Regions from separate parts of the Homo sapiens genome. Here region 2 is linked to region 1. The links are contacts of gene promoters, found by promoter capture Hi-C in blood cells and fetal thymus (Javierre and others, 2016). All regions are on one chromosome and are shown on one strand. The core of a region is centred on a gene start or on the middle of the fragment in contact, and the rest is flanking DNA. Distances in the headings are between cores, read along the strand shown. Region 1 holds the start of FHL5 (four and a half LIM domains 5). Region 2 overlaps KLHL32 (kelch like family member 32).

Region 1 (6,874 bases), core at 2,503-5,002:
ACACCTTCTCTTGCACAGAAACAGGCCAATCTTGGCTCTGAAATAGTCTATTCAGATACTAGTCTGCCAAAGAAAAACTGCGATCTGACTAGTCAACCTAAGACAAAAGTCTCAAAGGTTGTCTCATGTTTTGTGTTACTCAATGTAAAGAAGTAAAAGTGCTTTGTCAAACTGTTTTACTACTGAGCCTGTCTTTACTCATCTAAAATGCAGTCCTTAACCTAATTCTATCATACAGACTTCAGAGTTGGGTAAGAACTTGAAGACTTGACACATAGAACATATTGTTGTTTAAATACAACCTAATAAATGTAAATGTACTTAAAGTCAATGTTCTAGATTTTTCTCCTTTCCTCTTTTCAGTCTTAATCTCAGTCCTGTGATTTGTATGTTTTAAATGCTGAGTGTATCTTTTGGTGTTGAAAAAAGAGAGAAAAAAAAGGAGAGCTATTCCATTATGTATTTTATTACATAGCAACTATTTGTTATAGCCACTTTAAAAATATTTTATTGGCTTGTCCATCAGTGAATGACTGGATAAAGAAAATGTGGCACATCTACACCATGGAATACTATGCAGCCATAAAAAAGGATGAGTTTGTGTCCTTTGCAGGGACATGGATGAAGCTGGAAACCATCATTCTCAGCAAAGTAACACAAGAAGAGAAAACCAAACACCACATGTTCTTACTGATAAATGGGAGTTGAACAATGAGAACACATGGACACAGGGAGGGGAACACCACGCACCGGGGCCTGTTGTAGGGTGAGGGGCTGGGGGAGGGATAGTATTAGGAGAAATATCTAATGTAAATGATGAGTTGATGGGTGCAGCAAACCAACATGGCACATGTATACATATGTAACAAACCTGTATGTTGTGCACATGTACCCCAGAACTTAAAGTATAATAATAAAATAAAAAATATTTTATTGGCTTGGAAAATTACAGTATATTAAGTGAAAACAAGGATACAGATTTATAATGGGGTTCAGGATGCACTACGCTAAAATATGGCACCTTGGTGTTTGAGAAAACTCCAGAAGCAGGAAGATCATTCCCACCTTCCCTTTACCCTTCTCTCCCGAGGCAGGTCATAAGACCCTCATTCAAGAGACCTCCCTATGCCTGGAAGAAAGGAACACAAAGAAGAGTCTAAACAAACAGGCCTTGCTAAGTTCCCCCGAGTGTATAATCATTAGACTATATCCCCTTTGTCCAGTCATACTTTTCCATGACTATCCACTCTTCATCAAATCTAAGCATAAAAATACACACGTTTATCTCTTGCTTTGAGTCTTCATTTCTGAAAGGCTCCCATGTCCCATAAAAACTTACATTAAATAATTTGTATACTTTTATTAATTTGCCTTTTTTTATAGGGGCCTCAACCATAAACCTAGTAATGGAAAAGAAAAATATCTCGCACTTTCTACAAGTATATACAATGTGGTCTTGGTTTTCTAACTAAATATACTGCATAACTATGTTATGCAATATATTTACAAAAAATTTTAGCATTTCTCTGTATCATTAATATATGAATGATACAAAGCCTAAAGAGGTACACAAAGATTTGGTCTGGGCTGTCTTGGATTGCAAATCATTTTACATTTTACATTTTCTGTATATGTTTTCCAGTTTCTGTTCCAGATTATCTGCAAGAAGCATGTATTTTATAATTTAACAAACTTATTTAAAAATAATATTTTTCTATAGAGAAGGATAGAAAGGGATCAGGCTGAGGCAGATGCCAGTTATTTTATGGCTGACAGAATAATCTGAGTGAGACATGTGAGACATGGAATGCAGGGGTGAGGACAAATTTGAGAAAGATCATTTAACAAACTAGAACCTACAGAAGGTGGACAATGATGGGGATGGTGGAGGATAAATGAGGAAAGGGAATACTCTAACATAAGGGGTGGATGATTGTGCCATTCCCTGAAGTAGGAAATACAGCAAACTAACAAGTTTGGAATGGGGAGAAGACAATAAGGATATTTGGGACTGTTGAGTTTGAGATGGCTGGGGACCCCTAGACAAGGTTTTCTAATAGATAGCGGGATACAGGTCTGGAACCTTGAAGAGTGGTATCAGATGAAAGTACACATTTGGGAGTCATGTTGTATAAAATTGTTCATTGTTTTGATGAAGAACGTGATGGAAAGTCTGCAGAGAAGCATACTGAACAGAAGATAAAGCTCTAGGGAAGAGTGAGGTGAATAGAGAGAAAGTGAGGGTGCTAAGAGCAAACAGAAAATCAGAAGGGTGTAACATAGCAAAACCAAGGGAAGATAATTTCAGAAAGAAATAGACATGGCCAGAGATGAGAATTTTTCGGTAAGACTGAAGACCATACTCTTTGGGTTGCTAATCAAGGTTGTATATGATCTTAATGAAGCTTTTTTGGAGCGGTTCAAGTGAAAGACAGATTGCAATAAGTTGGGAGGGAGAAGAAGGCTCAGAATGTAGTAGGTTTGGAATGACTTGGTGGATGTAGATTACCCTCTCAGGAAGCATGGGAGCAAATAAAGAGGGTGATGGTCCCAGGCACTTTTACATCTCAAGGACTGCTTTCCTTGCCCATAAAACAAGGAAAATACAGGCAGTACCTGTTTAGCAATGGTGTCCTAAGGATTAAAATCTATTACTAATGAAATATACTTGTGTCCTTTTGCTGAATCCAAATTTATTGTTGTTAGTCGCCATATGTTCATTTTCATAATGTCTTAATCATTAAAGTCAAGTGAATAACAAAACATACAGTTAACTGGCTCTGCATTTCTCTAGCTCAAGTTCTTTGACTGTATATACCCGAGTTTGACCTTAGAAGATATTAACATTTCATTCCTTTAGCAGTTAGAACAAGGACAGTTTAAGTTTGGTCTGGGATTAAGGCAGAATTTCTTCTCTCATCCTGCCTTCCAAACTGAAGAAATGGCCTCAAATGGAGATTCTAAGAGAAAATGTCACTTGCCTTATGAATCAGTGTGCCCCACTGAGGATACCTATTATGGATTGGTTTAATATCCAAAAATTTCTTCAGATCCAACTCTTGACATCTCTGTCCACTTTTTGTGTTTTGAAGATTTCAAAAGACTCAATGAGTTTATGCTTTATGAAGTCATAGAGCCATGGATGTGATGTCACAATTGTGGCCAGCTCACCAGGAAGCAGGCAGAGCGGGGAAGGCTGAGTCCACACTGCAAGTCCAGAGAGCAGGGAACTACCTTGAGTATTCTACTCAAACTTATGTCTCAGAGTTCCCCAATTTCCCAAGAAGGGAGAGATAGAGGCCACAATCCAGGGGGCCATCTCTTAAGGTACCAATAATTTTGCAGGTAAGAGCATGGGACCTCATCCCTTTCCAGATGGCCTCAAAAGGAGATTCTAAGAGACAATGTCCAAAAGAAAAGCTCAGCGGTTCAGACATTTCTAACCTAAAAGAAGGGTTCTGATCACCACCAGAAAACAAAGAAAACAAAGCCAAAAACAGATTGAGGAAACAGAAAATACATCATCCTTTTAGAGTATTATTTTTATAAATATGCCCTTAATTTAGCCTAGTTAGTGGAAATTTCTCAAGTGTGTATGCGTCTGTGTGAACATTGTGTATTTTAAACTTTTTGGAGCTTAGCCAGATACTTCGAATGCTAATCCTGGCAGAATTTCCCTTTAAGGATGTCCTGCAGAGAATTTGTTACTCATAGTTTTAAGTAAAAATTGACAAATAGTGCTTTTTCAGCCCAGTAGGAGTCATGTACACGGTATAAGACTTGGAGGAAATGCAGGGACCCTTCTGTTTTCTCCTGCAAAGTTGAAAAAGCTGCATGCAGTTGGAAGGGATCTTCAGATGGTGCTGGTGACTTTCTGTTCCTTTTGGAGTTGACATGCATGTGGATTGGAGGAAAAATAATCAACATATATTCTCCTTTCGTACTGTTTAAATCACAGGAAGAAGCGGCTTTAAGACAAAGTGAGTTCTTTCCCCCAAATATTTCCTTTGTTTTGTTTTGTGGTATTTTGACTTCTCTAATTTTTTTTTAAGGATGAGAAATTTTTATAAACTTTCCAGTAACTACTTAAGAGAAAACTTTTGCTTGGCAAAAGTGTATGCCTTTTGAAGTTTCTTAGCCATTTTAGCTAAAGGTTATCAAATTTTATATGCTGAGCTTTTCAGATTTCTCATTCTTATAACTTGCATGTGGAGGTAACATAGGGGCCAGATAACTCCTTGGAATTGCCTCTTGAGTTTTTCTAATGGTCTTAATGTGGGGTATAGCTTTATTGTTGTAAAAAGAGGAAGAAGAGGAGGGCTCTTGAGATTTTATTTGGCTTAATTTATTTGAATGAATAACATTATCACTGAGCATATTTTATGACTAGATTTATATTTCAAGAGCACATTTTGAAGTCACTTACAGGTTTTAAGTAAAAGGAGTTAATGAGATTCCTGCTATTTTCAAGAAAAATCTGCCTACTTTCCAGAAGTGGGCATACAAAAATTCATAATCTTTAATTTTCTAAGGTTAAATTAAAATATCTGTGTTTCCAGCCCACAGAAATATATAATAGACTATATCAATCTAAAGTGCTACTTCTTGAAACAGAGGTAGTGTTATTCAGGCAAAAAGCATACATCCCATATGTGTTAATGCTTTCTCTCTCACTATTTTAGTCATATCCTCTTTGGTACCTATCATTCATTTGAAAACCAAATGCAGCTCCTCAGCTGTCATTTCAGACTTTAGAAAATTGGAAACTAAAAAGAATTATTAACAAAATGCATAGCTCTCATACATAAAATGTAAGGAAATCCTTGAGCCATTTTAGCCCTCATTTTATATCCACAATACCATCATGTGTAAATACTAGCATTTTTATTAGCAAAGCATATGGATTAAAATTTAACATAGGTATTGCAAACATATGTATCATACAAGATATTTCTTAACATATGTGTTATGATATATGCTTTAAGCCATAATCCAAATTGCTTTAAGGGGAAGGTAAACTCTAGTGTCTGTTTTCTACACTTGTTCTATTTATTCTCACATTATTATTAGTTGCCAAATCTGGGACTGTTCTACCTAAGCAAGAGTAGTAGATTTGTGTTTTAATATAACACCACCTCACTGACAAATTTACCTCTTATTTTTATTACACTTACCAACATTTTGAGTAAAGCTGAATTAATCTGTGTTTCTTACATAAGACTGGGTACTTTTCTACTATAATATTACAAATAAGAGTTTAGAAAATTTAGAGATTTAGAGAATATTTAGAGACAGATATTTAATTTGTCTGTTTTTATTTTTTCAATCGAGGGAACATGATCTCTTTAGAAATGAAAGCTGAATACTTGGGTTCGCATGGGAAGCTCTGAATCAGATATTAGTTAAACCAGCTTGCATTTCCTTGTTCTTGTAATTATCTTTTTCCTCTCCAATTACCATAATTTTTCTTGGTTACTTTTTGGTACCCTGAAAGCTCATTGAAGGAGAGGAAGAGAAGAAAGAGGTAGAGGAAGAGGAGGAGAAGGAGGACTCCTTTTTGCCCAACATGCCTCAAATCCCTGCAAAATAATCAGCTTGAGGCCAGGCACGGTGGCTCACTTCTGTAATCCTAGCTTTGGGAGGCCAAGGTCGTGGGGATCACTTGAGCCCAGGGTTCAAGACCAGCTGGGGCAATATAGGGAGACTCTATTTAAAATAAAAATAAATAATCAGCTTATTGATGACATACCCTAGTATTTTATATGAACTAGTAAAACATTCTTATGGGTTTGGGTTTACCTTATCCTCACCATATGTCTAAACTTTCACATGGGCTAATTACCCTGATTAGAACATACTAGGATATGTCAACAGCAAGGTTTACATTCATTAAATAAATAAAGCTAGAGAGTCTCTTTGAAAACAATAGTGTGATGTGGAGAACAGAGTCAAGGTTTTGAAGTGTCATTCATACTGAGTTTTCTATGAATGAGGGCAAGTGAGTTTGCCTCCCTACCTTAAAGATATAATTAAAACAGCTGTGTTATAGAATTTTATATTAGAATAATAATAACAGTAGTCATTTTTATTTTTTGTCTTCTCAAATTCTTCGGTTATACTTCCAGCACCAATGGACCTTAAATTTATCTCACTTGATTTTTAGCAAAGCTTTGAGCGATTCCTTTGCATATTCATTTTGCCAAAGGAATACTCACCAAATGGATCCTGAGTAGATTATTTTGATATATTCAGGTTGTCTCCTCCCATTTAAAAATATACCTTTTTGTATTTTTCCAATATCATTGCAATTATAATGCTCTAAAGATGGTGGTGTGGAAGTGGAGTGGAGAAATATGCTTCTTGGGCTTGTTCTCCAGCTTGATTTTGTTTAACTATCTCTTACAATTATTCATAAAACAATTTAAGTAACATGTCATAAGTCACATGACTTCTAAGATTTTTTTCTTCTTAAATTTTTTCTTTTTTGCTTTTATTAGTATTACTATAGACATGTAACTGTACATATCCATCAGGTACAATGTGATATTTGTATACATGTATATGACAAATTATCAAATCAGGGTAAATAGCATATTTATTACCTTATTTTTCATTTCTTTGTGTTGGGAACATTTACAATCCACTCTTCTAGCTATTTGAAAATATACAATAAATTGCTAATTATAGTTACCCTATAGTGCTATAGAACACTCAAACTTATTCCTCCTATCTAGCTGTATTTTGTATTTCTTAACCTACCTTTGGCTATCTCTTTCTTCCCCCTACCCTTTTCTGCTTCCAGTAAGCACTATTCTGCTCTCTCCTTCTATGAGATTGACTTTTTTAGCTTCTTCATATTCATGAGGACATGCAG
Region 2 (6,874 bases), core at 3,182-5,681, 520 kb after region 1:
AAAGTACAGTTATTGAAATTTTAGTTTTAAAACCCTAGTTGCTCAGATAAACTATTTTCAATTAAAAGAAAATATATATATATATTAATTTCTTATATATATTCCATATTCATTGGCAATCTCCTTACGTGCTGAGTCAGGTTTAGTGAACTTTGAAACAGCATTTTGCAGCACGTAGTGACTGGGGCCAGAATTATTAGTTATTGTTGACGGCTATGTTTCACTTCCTCCCTACTAGATTTCCAGCTTACTAGAGAATTTCCCAAGGAACAATATAAAATTATTCATGAGCCTTGGGTATTATGCATACAATTGATTATGAAAATGTACTAGTAACCTAATTGTAGAATTCCTCTGTTACACAGCACAAATGTATTTAAATAGGCCTTGCAAGACTCCAAAAATTAGAGCATGCTGGAGTTTTCCTTGTACTTTTGAATTGCTGCTAATACTTTGTTTTCATTTAATCAAATTGTATCATATACATATGCATATCAATGTTTGAATATATCATTACATACAGTTGTCCATACATATTTACATATTTATATACAAAATATGCCTATATCTCTCTGTATGTTTATACATATAAACATATCTGAGTTTGATTATTTTATCATATTACAAGTTATCTGGCCTGCATTGTCAATGAATTGCTCATTTTTTCTTCTATAACAATTAGACTTTATCCTATCAACTCTATGACAATGTTGAGAAAATTCACAGAGCCCTTCACATGCACAATAAACATGATAACTTCTTTCCTATATAACTGATCCCAAGGCTATTAAAAGGTTTGGATTTTGTTTATTTATTGGTTTGTTTCAACCTGTTCCAAAGGCCAGACCTTACCGCACATCCACACCAGCCCCCTTTATGTTGCTTTCTCTACTCCTGGAGTACCAACCTTTCCTGCAGCACCAGGTTAGGTAGTCACATAATACCTTGATTTATAACTCAGTTGTAATCAAAATAGGAAACAGGTGGAATCACAACTGGGTATGGTGCCTTGGATATTAATGGCTTGGCTCAGCAGTGGAATTTCTAAAGCCGTATACACTTTTTTGTCTTAATTATGCATTCATTAAAAGCTTTTATACCCAACAGAATAAAGTAAATATTTTTTGATCTCCATAGTGTGCTCCCAGACTGTAGATTTGCACAGCGGGGTCTTGATAATCTGAATAAATTGTATTTCCCCAAGGAGTTTATCTTTCAAATAAGGTCATAAAGAAATGCAGCTCCCCCATCCGTAGATTTCTCCATGTGCCTTTTCTGCTATGAGTAATATAGAGCTTGAGAACCAGAGTATATTATAGTAATACATACTTGCTTATGGTCCAGTATAATGTCTCTATCTGTTCTCCCTGCTTATCTCCAGTGAAGTATTTTTTGAGTACAAAAGAAATGACAGCTATGGTTTTTGCTGACACTCATAGAAAAACAATGTCCATATTAGACATTCAGTGTTTTCTTCCCTTTACCCGCTCAGTGAGTATGGACTATGCAAAGCTATAGTTTAAGTACTGTTAACAGCATTTGTAAAAGGGAGTAATGATAGCTACTGTATGTTGAGCATCTACTATGTAGAAGGTACTTTATCTGCACTTTTGAGAATCCTTATCACAGATCTGGAATGCAGTGTCACTTTTCGCAATTTTTAGATGAGAAAATTAGACTTGAAAAGATTAACCACTTCCTGAGGCCATCCAGATGGGTCAGCTCCAAATCATGTGTTTTTCCTACAGCTCTAAACTAAAGACACCACCAGTGCCTTGTTCCCGCAGTTTACCACCCAGTGAAGGAGACAGGGAAACTATGAAATTAGGAACCTAAGTAAATATGCACAATTAGGTGTACTTATAATATTTCTAAATCATGAAGACTAAGATGGCAATGCACCTCATGGTGCATACGTATGCTAAAAGTAGCACACAGTTCTGAAAAGTTCAGGAAATAGCTTTTTCCCATCTTTTTAGGTTGCCATATTTATCTCCAGTGTAGCTAACATTTCTAGGCACGTACCTTTATTTAAATATTAAATAAATGTATTAATATTTAATAAATTATTTACATTGTAAAATATTTAAATATTTTTAGAGGAGCAGGAAAATCTATGTTTTTGCCATAAACTAAGAAATAAAAGCAATAAAATTTGAAATTTTAAAGATGTGGCATTTTTTCTTGCCTACCCACTGTATATCAATCAAAACTTGCTAGGTAGCCACTTTCTGAAGACAGAGAGGAAGATCTAAAGAACTAAAGATACTATCTGCACCTTTATGCACAGCTGGAGAGAGAAGAGTCAAACAAATGATACAAATAGCAAGTGCAATTAAAAGTCAGAGGAGGGAAAGTCCTCCAAGCTGGAGTGGCCTGCCTTTCCCTGGAGATGGAATCTGATCTGGGTTGTCCCGCAGAAGGGAAGGGCATTTATATTACAGAACTTCCCCTTTCTCACAAGCTTTTTAAAGTCTACTGAAGCAAACGATGTCTTTAAATCTTTCACAAATAATAATCATTTGTGACAAAAGAGTCTCAAAGTTCTGCTTATGGTATAAAGGAAAATTAATGTGAATTCATTTGATAATGTCTGATTTTTTTTTTTGGCAAACAGTTTGCACATTTATCTTTTTCTGATCATCACTAAAAACCAAGAGAAGTAAGCTTCTTTTTCAACATTCTGGGGAAAGGGGGAAAAATCTAACATATAGAAAACAAGGAGACCCAAGATTCACTGTGGAAGTCAGGCCTCATGTATCTGGCACCACAAGAGGGCATTCCATTTTATTTCCCAATTGTATGAAAAACCCAGTACCTAGATAGCATCGCAAGGGACTTTCTGAAGCTCAGATTAAGTACTTAAGAACACTTTTCTCAGTTAATTGTGGGAGAGCTGTTTATTTTGCCCAACTGTTAAGTTGTATCTATAACCAAGCTATTATTTCCTCTTTTCATGTAAAGTCATAGATGTGCCTCACAACTGTTTGCTTTTTTTTCATTCTTGATCCAACAAATACTTCTCTGTTGCAATCTATGAGAAAGACATTATGATTGACATTGTGCAGAATACAAAAAGCATACGATGCGAAATCTACTTTTTACTAGTTTACTAGGTACATTTTTAATAGTTTGAAGATAAGCTACATGCATGAATAGCTTAGTGACAAGCTTATGTGTATGTGATAGGAAACTTGAAGTGGGAGGCATTAGAATTCATTCAGTGATAAAGAGCCTTATACTTACCGTATCCTACTTGCTACTTGGTCCTTATAAGCAGCTGATACAATTTTTAAATTTCACTTTGACTTAACATTGTTAAAAATCAAACCATACTGATTTTTATGTAGAGTGGTTTCTCAGGCTGTTTGGAATAGATTTGGGAGTGGTTTTAAAAAGAGAATTTCTTGACTTACAGAGCCAAGGATGGCCTTTCATTTAGAGAAATTTTCAAATTGTGATATAAAATCAACATTTTATATAAGAACTTCATGTATGCTACTACATCATGGGCATAGAACCACTATGTCTCCTGCCTATCTTTATCTATAGTAAAGTATCGACATGGGGTAATTTAGGTGACATTTCGAAGGAGAGTTGTCTAAGTGAAGTGCATCAATAATTGGAAATGAAAGATTATAATTACATTGATGAAACAAAGCATTGTTAAAATAGCCACATCTGTTGAGTGTTATTACCCGGAAAAATCTGTAATCCTATTCAATTTGGACATCTTAGAGGGGGAAAACTTGGGAAATCAAAATGAAATTACTCTTGTTTTAACCTTGAGAGGAGTTTATTATCTTTAACCCAAGTCATAGTTTTCTATAGTGATAGTACATGATGCTTATTTTTCTTTCACACGTCAGTGGCATTCTCAGAACTAGATGAGACAGCAAGAGAAATAGGTGTTTTTAAGGCTTTGTTTTGAAGGGTGCCTCATCTAGTTTTAAGAATGTCAAAACACCTATTTTTAAGATGACTGCATCCACTGTAGACTAACTCCATTATCTACCCCACAAACAGATATCATATAATTATGCATAATGTGTATAATTTCTGTGTCAGAGGCATGATTAAACTGCAGTGTGGATGGGCAAGGGGTTATTGACAAGCCAGGGAGCCACGGCGGTAGCCAAAACTAAGACTATGTTTCAGAAATTCAGATGATTCTCAGCTTGTATCATCATTGGCACACAAGACACAGCTCTTGAGCGTGACATCCCTAAGCTAGGCTGTGGGTTATGTGTGGTAAATATGCAGACTCTAGGCATAAGGCTGCATGTTTTTCTCTCATTCAAGAAGGTATAGTAGAATACAAGTGAGTCTGGGTGGCATTATTTCATAGGCTTAAATCTACTCTAAATTATAAACAAAGTACTTCTTGTATGAACTTTGGTCATTTATTAGTAGTTCCTGCATAATTGAGATATTGAGAGACACCGCAAAGGCCATGGCCACTCTGCTGCAGATGAGACCCACCAGGGGACATCACCGAGGCCAAGACTCCTCCTTCTCTTGCTGCCTTCACTGGCTTGGGAAGGGTGGGCTGAAAGGCCACAGGATCAACACTGTCCTCAAACTGCCCTCCTTCCTCCCATTCATGTCCTAACTGCTCGATAATTGCCTTGCAAATGTAACTACACTTGAATATAAACCAAAATAAAACAATATTTGCCTTTCCCATATTTTTACCCCTACCGTATTTGGTAGTTAATCTGGGGAATAACCATTGAAGGAACCAATTAGGGAAAGAGGCCACACAGAAAGACTGAGTTTGGGGAATATATAAAGTTTAAAAATTATTGAACTTGAAAAACTGGTGTTTATTCCATAGCTAGTGTGGTATTGAGGACACATTTTATGGCTCCTCTTCTCTTATTTAACTTGTCATTCACACTATGAGAAACAAATAGAAGGAATAAGAGAAGCCAAATAGCCCTAAACCAAAGGAAAATAAATACTATTTAAAAATATTCCCTAAAGAACAACAATGTATGCACCATAATTCTGAATAGAAACTAAATTTCAAGTGAGAAGCAGTGTGACAGAAATGAAACCTTTTTAGAAAAAAAAAAGAGTAAGATTTTCTTTTACTCAAGAGAGTTTCTTGTTGCTGAGCTGTAATTTCCATTCAAAACCACTACCGCTACCTGGATACTTACATTTTTAAGTCACAGAATGCAGGAGAGCTGAGACAATCTCGTAATTAGGAAAAAGTATCATTTGAAAAGATATTAAAATCTTTTGATCTAAGTAGCCAATTGATAGAGGAAATAATTCTCTGTTGGACTGTAAAAGAAATTTGGGGTGGATTGATTTTTTTGTCACAGAAGAATGATTATATTATACTTGTTCAGTAACACTTTCAACTCTAGTCATTATTACCAATTTTCCCACGCAGAAAACAGGATGACCACTGGCTTTGCCTTTGTGTGTACGTGTCAGAAGGCCAGAAAGAGAAAGGGACAATCAGGAAGGCCTGTGAGATATGAAAAATGGCCTGATTTGGACAAGGTTCAGAATTGGATAGGCATATTGGAAAGACATGGGCTATTCTGTTTTTGCCTAATTATAAGTAAACAGAAAAAGCTCATGGGTATTCTTTCATTAAACACACATGTATTAAGCATCTGCTCCCTACTGGATACCAGGGACACACAAGGCATGAGACACAATCTTTGCTTCCGAGAAGCTTAGATTTGGTAGAGGGAGATAGATCTGCAGTTAAAGGGTGCTTGCAGTGACAAGTGATGTGCTAGACATATTTGCAGAGGGCAGAGTAGAAGTACACAGGAAGAGGTGGTCAATTTGACCTGACCCAGGGAAGTTGAAAAGATGATATGGTTTCTTCATTCAGCAAGTGTGGCTTGAACGTACCTGGCATTGTTCTAGGCTCTGGGGATACAGTGGTGAACAAACCAGCAGCTCCTTCCTCCCATGGAGCTTACTGGGGGATCAGGGGAGGAGACAAGCACATTATAAACAAGTAGGCAAATAAATGCTGAAGATAATTATAGGTGGTGACAAGCTCTAAAACAAATAAGATGGAGAAATGTGATTGACGGTGACATGGAGAGGAAGGGAGATGTGCTGTATAGGATATTCAGATGAAACAAGGGAAACACAATTCCTATCCCATAGGAATTTTGCTCATGCTGCTTCTTTGGCTTGGAGCATCTCCCTGAAATCCTACCATCATCCTGTTTTAAAATGTAGATTTTGTTATTATTGAGTTATGGTGAGGCCAACAGATCAGGAGACAATTACCATTGAAAACATGATTTGTTTCTGCTCCAATAAGAGGGCACAGACCACACCTCCAGGACTGCATAGGGAAGCCCCAGGGTTGGTGAGGAGGTAGAAGGAGTGAGGGGGGAAAAGTGGACTAGAGTCTTTATAGTGGTATCTGCAGGAAGGAAGTGGGCAAAGCAGGGTTAGCAGGCTTATGATTGGCTAGTTTGAAAGTTTCCATGGGTTCACGAGTGTAGGGGCTGGCTCTGGTTGTCTGGTACTTGGCCCTGGGATGATGGGGACAGAGGACTATTGCCTCCTGGAGTGTAGAAGCCACATAGAGGAGGTGATTTAGAGTATGGGCTCTGGATTGGTTAGTTTGCATATGAAAGCCGTTTGCTCTCTCAAAGAATTGGCTAGCCCTGGGAGGGGCAGTCTATTCTCAGTCAGTGAAACCCCAGATGCCAGAACATGGAGAATACAGAAATAAAATGTTGTTAATATACATCCCCATCCCACCCTTTGCCAAGTGAACAAAGGATGCTCTTCCTTCAACTCTCAGCATCAAACGGCTTCTCAGGGAAGCCTTTACTAACTTTCCACTCCAAGTCAACTCCAAGTTAGTCCTTTATTAACTCCA

Evidence for each region. Contacts are between HindIII fragments. The CHiCAGO score rates a contact against its expected background, and 5 or more counts as called.
Region 2: a contact is called between a fragment that was not itself captured here and the fragment with the promoter of FHL5 in region 1, in 2 of 17 cell types (naive CD4 T cells and activated CD4 T cells). The highest score is 6.7, in naive CD4 T cells.

The regions. Positions count from the first base shown.
Region 1 is chr6:96,559,376-96,566,249 of GRCh38, forward strand. It overlaps FHL5 (four and a half LIM domains 5), which reads left to right and starts at 3,753. Exons shown (of 6, transcript NM_001322466.2): 1 at 3,753-3,980. The HindIII fragment of the contact is 3,763 bases long and covers 2,404-6,166 here.
Region 2 is chr6:97,074,797-97,081,670 of GRCh38, forward strand. The region is part of intron 5 of KLHL32 (kelch like family member 32); the gene reads left to right. Among named protein-coding and RNA genes, the nearest start is that of KLHL32, 150 kb to the left of the region's middle. The HindIII fragment of the contact is 2,524 bases long and covers 3,170-5,693 here.